Linked DNA regions of Homo sapiens: region 2 is linked to region 1. Evidence: promoter capture Hi-C in 16 types of primary human blood cells and fetal thymus (Javierre and others, 2016). All regions are on one chromosome and are shown on one strand. Each heading gives the region's core, a stretch centred on a gene start or on the middle of the fragment in contact. The rest is flanking DNA. Distances are from core to core; before and after follow the strand shown. Region 1 holds the start of CISD2 (CDGSH iron sulfur domain 2). Region 2 overlaps DAPP1 (dual adaptor of phosphotyrosine and 3-phosphoinositides 1).

What was found. Contacts are between HindIII fragments. The CHiCAGO score rates a contact against its expected background, and 5 or more counts as called.
Region 2: a contact is called between a fragment that was not itself captured here and the fragment with the promoter of CISD2 in region 1, in 1 of 17 cell types (neutrophils). The highest score is 7.6, in neutrophils.

What each region holds. Positions count from the first base shown.
Region 1 is chr4:102,867,009-102,870,703 of GRCh38, reverse strand. It overlaps CISD2 (CDGSH iron sulfur domain 2), which reads right to left and starts at 1,712. Exons shown (of 3, transcript NM_001008388.5): 1 at 1,517-1,712. The coding sequence starts at 1,619. It also overlaps a transcript of UBE2D3 not described here. RefSeq lists silencers at 1,452-1,571, 1,602-1,891 and an enhancer at 2,122-2,261. The HindIII fragment of the contact is 11,662 bases long and covers 1-2,870 here.
Region 2 is chr4:99,842,006-99,845,700 of GRCh38, reverse strand. All of the region lies in intron 3 of DAPP1 (dual adaptor of phosphotyrosine and 3-phosphoinositides 1), which reads right to left. Among named protein-coding and RNA genes, the nearest start is that of DAPP1, 27 kb to the right of the region's middle. The HindIII fragment of the contact is 3,832 bases long and covers 1-3,536 here.

The DNA.
Region 1 (3,695 bases), core at 463-2,962:
GTAAACTGGTAGGATCAAAAGATCTGATGTTTATAAACACTTGATGTGAAACGTTTTTCATTTTATTTTACTTTTGCATTGCTTCTGATGTTTAATGTTCCTTTTTAATGTTTATTATTGTTACCATGCTTTCTATTCAATTGCATGTTTTCTACTAAAACTCTTAATATTTAAAAAATATTAAAATCTCACAATCCACTCAACAGAGCGTCTGTCTGACCATAATTCAATGAATCTCTAGATTTGGAAGAGAATTTGTCATCTAGTTTATCCCTTCTAAATCTATCGACCACCCACCACCAGAGTCTTTTTGTTTGTTTTTTTCATCTTTGAGAGGGGCTATCACTGAAGCACCACATTTGTTTGGGGAAAGCATTCTTTAATTTAAAAAAAAATCTTCCTTAGACTGAAATTCACCTCCCAATAACCTTCACTAATTTGGTTAATTTGTTATCAGTTCTATATTTTAGTCTACACAAATCTTATTTTTCTTCTACCAGACAGCTGTGCGATTGCTGTATTTTAGGTCAGGTACTACAGATCTTTAGAACGTTCCCGGCGAAGCAACCCTATTTACCTCAGAATTATCTTAATTCATGTTTGCACTCCCTGATAACCTAGGACATAGGAGTTCAATACTTGCTGATTCCTTCACCATCCTACTCGGTCTGAGTTCCGTTTAGAAATATCCCCCTTACAATGAAATGCTCATAACTCAACACAATCTCCCAAGTGTTGACTGCATTCTGGAGATTTTCATCCTTTAGATGTGAAATCCTCATGAGTTGTGTGGGTTAAGTGAGGGTCCTTAAGTATAGAACGTTACATATATTCACTAAATTTCATTTTCTAAGATTTCACTCCTCATACCGGCCTTCGAATACTTTCTTGGGTAAGGTATCTTTCTTCCAACTTAAGTTACCGCAGCGGGCCCCGGGACCGTAGAAACGGAGATGACCTCAAATGCCACCTATGATAGGTCAATTCTAACCTGAGGGAATGGAGGTTATCTCCTAATTTCGTTACTAAATAAAACGGTCATATACGTGTTACGTGTAAGTCTATATTTCTCTCCCACACACTCCCACCCACATGCTGAGGGTACAACCCAGCCGGTAGCTGGGGCTGCCTGTTACATGAGGCCTTAGATAACGACGACTTAGCCCGCTTTAAAATAAACAAGTACGCTACAGAGAGCGATGAGCAGGACAGGAGATGAAAGAGACTGGCCTGTTCCCAACTCAGCACCTTCTCTGCAAAAACCTGGTATCTTGCCACGGAATGACACCGGAGACAACTCCGAGGACAAAAGACCCTGGGGCATCAAGCACCCGGAGACTGCCTCACAGGCGTTCCCCAGGCAGCTGCGTCGGCGCGCGCCCACCTTCCTCTGCGCGCGGGGATCACGTGCCAGGCGCCGAGCTCCGTCCCGCCCCTTGGCCCTAGGATTTTTACGCCTCCTTCCCCCGCTTGGCGAACGTGCAAGGATGGGGACTGGCTGATGGGGGAGGATTACCTGTGAGCCTAGCGAACCCGGTAATGCTTTCAGGGACTGGGAGCCGCTTCAGATATGCAGGGAGCTGCACCTTCACGATACGGGCCACGCTCTCCAGCACCATCCTGGCCAGCGGCGTCCACTCCTCTCCCGAGCCCCCTCCGCTCTGGCCAAGCTGCCGCGCCTGCGCCGGGAGCGGAAGCGGCCGGCGGGCACTGGCGGCCTCGGCCTGGGCGGCGGGCGGGGCGGCGGGCCCTGGGAGGAGAGGTGACCTGCCGGGCGCCGATTGGCGGCGGGCGAGTGACGTACGCTCGCGGCGGACTGCCGAGGCGCGGGAACTGGCGGGTAGCGAGGCCCTCCTCGGAATCTCGTGTGAAGGTGGCCCTCCTCTTGGGCCTTTAACGTCTGTAGATGCTGGAGACCAGCAGAAAGGATACTGTGTGCGATGAGATAAGCATGTGAGAATGCTTTCTAACCGAAAGTGCCTTTCAAAAGTGAGTCTCTTGCTGTCTCTACTTCGTCCCCTCTCGCCCCGCCTCTTCCCCTACAGTTTGGGTGCTGTGGCCCTAGGGTTGCATACTCGCCCATGAGTATCCTCCCCCTACCCAGACCCCAGTGCCTAATTTTACTCCTTCACCCAAAGGCCAGGCTTAAAAAAATAAAAATTAAAATATTTTAACTAAACCAGGAACTGTTTACATCTCTGCCCCTTGGCAACTTAACTGCAGCCCTAGCTCCAAAAACCTCTGGTTTTTGCCACTCAGAGAAGATTCGTAGTAGTCCTTCCTTAGATATTTTCAGTTCCTTTTCCTTCGGGAAAGTGGTAAAAGAATCCAAAGCTGGCCGGGCGCGGTGGCTCACGTCTGTAATCCCAGCACTTAGGGAGGCCGAGGCGGGTGGATCACGAGGTCAGGAGTTCGAGGCCAGCCAGGTCAAGATGGTGAAACCCCGTCTCTACTAAAAATAGAAAAATTAGCCGGGCGCGGTGGCAGGTGCCTGTCCCAGCTACTCGGGAGACTGAGGCAGGAGAATCGCTTGAACCAGGGAGGCGGAGGTTGCAGTGAGCCGAGAATGTGCCACTGCACTCTAGCCTGGGAGACAGAGCAAGACTCCGTCACAAAAAAAAAAAAAAAAAAGAATCTAAAGCCTTATGTATGGTTTTCTTTATGTTACAAGGCTTCTGCTGAAGTCTAGCGCAGGGGGTCCTTATGGCTTCCCTAGGCCACACTGGAAGAAGAATTGTCTTGGGCCACACATAAATACACTAACACTAATGGTAGCTAATGAGCTAAAAAAAAATTTTTTTTCATAAAGTTTTAAGAAAGTTTACAGATTTGCATTGAGTGGCATTCAAAGCCATCCTGTTGGGCAAGCTTGATCTTGAAGGTTTTAATTTTGTTGTTGTTGTTGTTGTTACAAGGTTTCGCTCTATCGCCCAGGCTGTAGTGCAGTGGTCAGATCATAGCTCACCGCAGACTCTAACTCCGGCTTAAGGGATCCTTCTGCCTCAGCCTTCCAAGTAGCTGGGTTTACAGGCGTGTGCTGCCACACCCAACGAATTTTAAAAATTTTTGTGTGTATGTAGATGGAGTCCCATTATATCGCCCAGGCTGGATAGTTGTTTTTATTAATATCTCTAAAAGATTTGAAGGGTAAGAGGAGAAAATTTCACTCCCTTGAAATAACTTTCTTGCTATGACTTTGTTTCATATTTTGGCTGAAGTCAAAATGTCCGAAGTTGTGCACTTGCTGATTGGATAATGTGTGTGATATCTTAATAATATGCCTCATTATTTACAGTTCTACACTTAACAACATATAATAACGAACTGCTAATGGTCCAGTATTTCATTGTGTATGACAGTGTAACAGCCAGTTATAATAAATACTTTCCATTTTTCCCCTTGGTATTTTTATTTTACAGTGAGAAAAGGAAGGAATTTTTTAAAGCAATCTTTCATTCTCTGGACTGTATAAATTTAGTGTTTGTGATTGTCCTTCACTAAAAAAGAATATCAGTAATAGAGTTGACCAAAATCTAGATTAAATAATTTTCTATCATTATAATTGTTCAAAATTGTTAAAGTAAAACTTACAATGGAAATTCTACAAACACGTTTAGATACAGGTTCATGTTTTTGAGCTAGGGCAGTATAGAAGATGGTGTATACAAAGTGATGTTTAAAAGGTTGATGGGATT
Region 2 (3,695 bases), core at 371-2,870, 3.0 Mb after region 1:
ATAACAATAAATACAAAGGCAGAAGTTAAAGTTGATTCACACTCTTTAGAACAATAGGTTTACTTCATGTACCAAACATGTTATTGTAGACTTTAAAGAAGAGATAAAGAAGAGACTGAGGGATAGGACTAAGACATGTGTTACAGCCCTGCCATATCCTACAATCATTCTACTACATTATTGTAGCAGAAATTCTTCCAAATTTATTAAAGGCCATGCTGTGCCATGGCAGCAATGTATTGCAGTGTCGCTGTAGGACCAATTTCAAGAGATAGCAAGGTGCCTGGAAAGCATCTATGCTTCAGGACCAGGTTAGCCCAGATTCCAATCTCAGCTCTGAGTTCTTCCAAATCCATTTAAGGCCACACTGTACCATGGCAACAATGTACTGTTATTGTGGGACCAGTTTCAAAAGATAGCAAGGTGCATGGAAAGCATCTATGCTTTAGAACCAGATTAGCCCAGATTCCAATCTCAGCCCTGATGTTTACCAGCAGTGAAAACTTGGGCAAGTGACTTAAAACCTCTGAGTTTTCCTTTCCTCATCTGAAAATAGGACCGTTGTATGCATTATTGTGGGTGGCTGAGATGAAATAAGTTGATGTAGGTGAATGCCTGGAACCTAGCAAACACTCTAAAAATGTTGGCTTAATTCCCTTCCTCAGCTGCTTTTTCCTTTTTCGAATAAAACTCATCTATAAACTGAGAACATTTTGTATTTTTGGCAAACATCCAAGGAAGTTTGGAAAAATTCTAAGTTGTCACTAGTTGTTTTCTGAAGAACCACCCAATTCTCAAATTAAAATTAATTTTAACCACATTATTTAAAAATATCACCTGGGTGGTGTCACAAAACAAAATAATAATAGCGGTAGCTGTCGTCAAAAGATTGGGAATCCCCATATCAAAACAAAAAGAGAAATGGAGATTTGACATTTACCAAAAAACCAGATGAGATCTTTAAAATTGGGAACCAATTATTATAAAGGGTAAGCACAAACATAGAACTTGACTTGTATTATATTTTTTCATGCCTGTTAGGTGATTACAGTCACAATACAATGTAATAAATTATACATGGCAATTTCATGTTAAGAATTATTGAAACATAAACAAAAGGTAATGGTAAAAGTAATTTTTTGTTCTAATCATATTTAGACATTTAAGCATAAAGATAAATGCCGTCTACATTTTCAAGACTATATATATGAAACTTAGCTAATTACAAGAGGCTACGACAAAATTAATAATGGACCAAACATATTTATACTAATAAAAAAGTTTCTCAAATTTTCAAGTCTATTTGAGTTTAGTTTAGAGTTCATGCACAGACATGAATATGTTTTATTTGATATCCTACTATTGAGACAGAAAAACTCCAACCGGCCTGCCCACTGAGGTGAAGCCTTAGGAAGTTCGTGTCCTTTGCAGTGGGGAGGAGCCTGGCCCCTCCTCTTCCTGTGAGGAACATAGAATTCAAACTGCTGGGCAGGAAGCGCTCTAGCTTCCCTGTTTCCCTCTTTTCTTTCTTTTCATCCAATAAAACCCTGCTTCACTCACCCTTCAAACCGTCTGCGAGCCTAAATTTTTGTGGCCGTGGGATGGAGAGGGACCCGATCTTTAGCTGAACTAAGGAAAAGTCCTGCAACACTATCACAAATGAAAGGCAAATTCTGAATTTAATCATCACTGAGCATACATGCAACACAAAATATCATTTCAAATTATGTTTTTATAAACTTTGAAAGTTAAAATTGTCACAAGTTTGCTAGTTTTGATGTTGCCATGCAAAAAACTGCAATGCAGGCATTGGAAATGGGGCATCCAGCATGACATATTGTGGAAATGATCAGTACTTATTTTTTCAGGTCCTGGGACATAGCAGGAAGCAAAGCTGACAAAAGTCCCTTTCTTCATGGAGTTCACACACTAGTGTGGAAAAAAAGGTATTTTTTTAAAAAACATAAGTGAATTATAGATGTCAGAAGGTAAAAGGGCCATTGAGAAAAATAAAGCAAGAGAGTACATTGTATATCTCTATCATGTACTTGGGAAATTATTAGGTTTTGAGAATTGGAAGTATCTTAAGAGTGTTTATGGGTATTGATAAAAAGAAATTAGAGTGAACAGAAACTTTAATGGAGATTAGAGAGATGAAATAGAGATTATGGCAAGGGAAAGGGAAATTATCATAAAATACTCTTAAAGTTGTCAAGAGGCTTAGATGTTGCTTAGGAAATCCTTGCTTTTCAGATTAGCAAACAGAAATCCTAAAAGTGTAAAGAGTAGGGAATAGAAAAAAAAGATATCTTAAAATAGCATTAATCCCCTTAGGTCAACACTTTTATCTATTTTGAGTGCAAAAATGTTCTTACGACCCAAAATCAAATATTCTGGGTTTCACTCTACTGAAGGCATTATATATAACTGCAAGGCAAAAGTGTAAAGTTTTGGCTATTTGGATATCATTTCTGTTGCCCTCAAAGGTAATACCACTTGTGCCAGTAGATAAATGTATTATAAGAAAGTCACTCTTTAATAAACTTACCCTCTAGACCCTGCAGGGTGAGGCTGGGCCTGGGTGGGGTCTGGCTGAGAGCAGTGGCCTGAAATATCCAATTCTAGTCCTTGTCATTCTGGTAATCTGAAGTTGAGAGCCCTGGGAGGGGCTTGTCCATTGTGTGGACAAATGCTTTTCCTGGTGATGTTAATCAAACATAAGCTATAAGAAATATCTGTACTTCTGGCGTGAACCCGGGAGGCGGAGCTTGCAGTGGGCCGAGATCGCGCCACTGCACTCCAGCCTGGGCGACAGAGCGAGACTCCGTCTCAAAAAAAAAAAAAAAAAGAAAGAAATATCTGTACTTCATCTGAAGGTGAACATGAAATCGTTAGCCTGAAGATCTTCTGATCACTGGGAGCCAATACTAGGAGCCCATGCTTAAATGAACAAGAAGAAAAGGCCTATTTTTAGAAGGTGGCATGTCAGTTTCCATTCACCATTCTTTATAGTCTGCAATGCTGACTCCGTAACCTTGAGGAATTTCTGGGCTTACAAGTCATCATGACTTGAGCACATTATCTTGTTTCCCAAGGCCTATTACTCCCAGAGGGGCAAGATTTGAACACTCATCTGTCATGGGTTTTGCCTGTTGTTCCTAGCCCTGATGGCTTTCCCTTCATCTGGCTGGGACAGATAAGAGGAATAAAGCTGGTGGACTCTAACTCAAGGGCTGGAAGCCAGCAAGTCAAGTGCATATCCATCAGCACGAGGGGCCGAAAGCAGGAATTCAAACAGCAGCAAATTCTTCATTGGATAATGAATAGAACAGAGGAGAGGCAGTGGAGAGGATAAAAATATTAGGTTCCTGAGTTATATTGTAATAAATAAAATGGCAATTGTAGTCAAGATAATAATACAGCAGGTTTGAGTTTTAGAGAAACTACTGTAGAAGTCTGGATGACAAATCCTTACAATCCCTAATGCATCAATCATAAGGCTTCTTTACTCAGAACAGTGTATTTACAAGGAAGCTTATCATTGTCCCAAATGCAATATCAAAACATCTTTATTTTGGCGCATCCTTAGGTGATCCTCTTGCCTGATGATTGGATCAGTGCCAGAAAGGTTCAACCAGAAAGCACTGCCTTCACTTTGATCTTAAATGTTTTGAAATCTGCCAGTAGGCAGAATA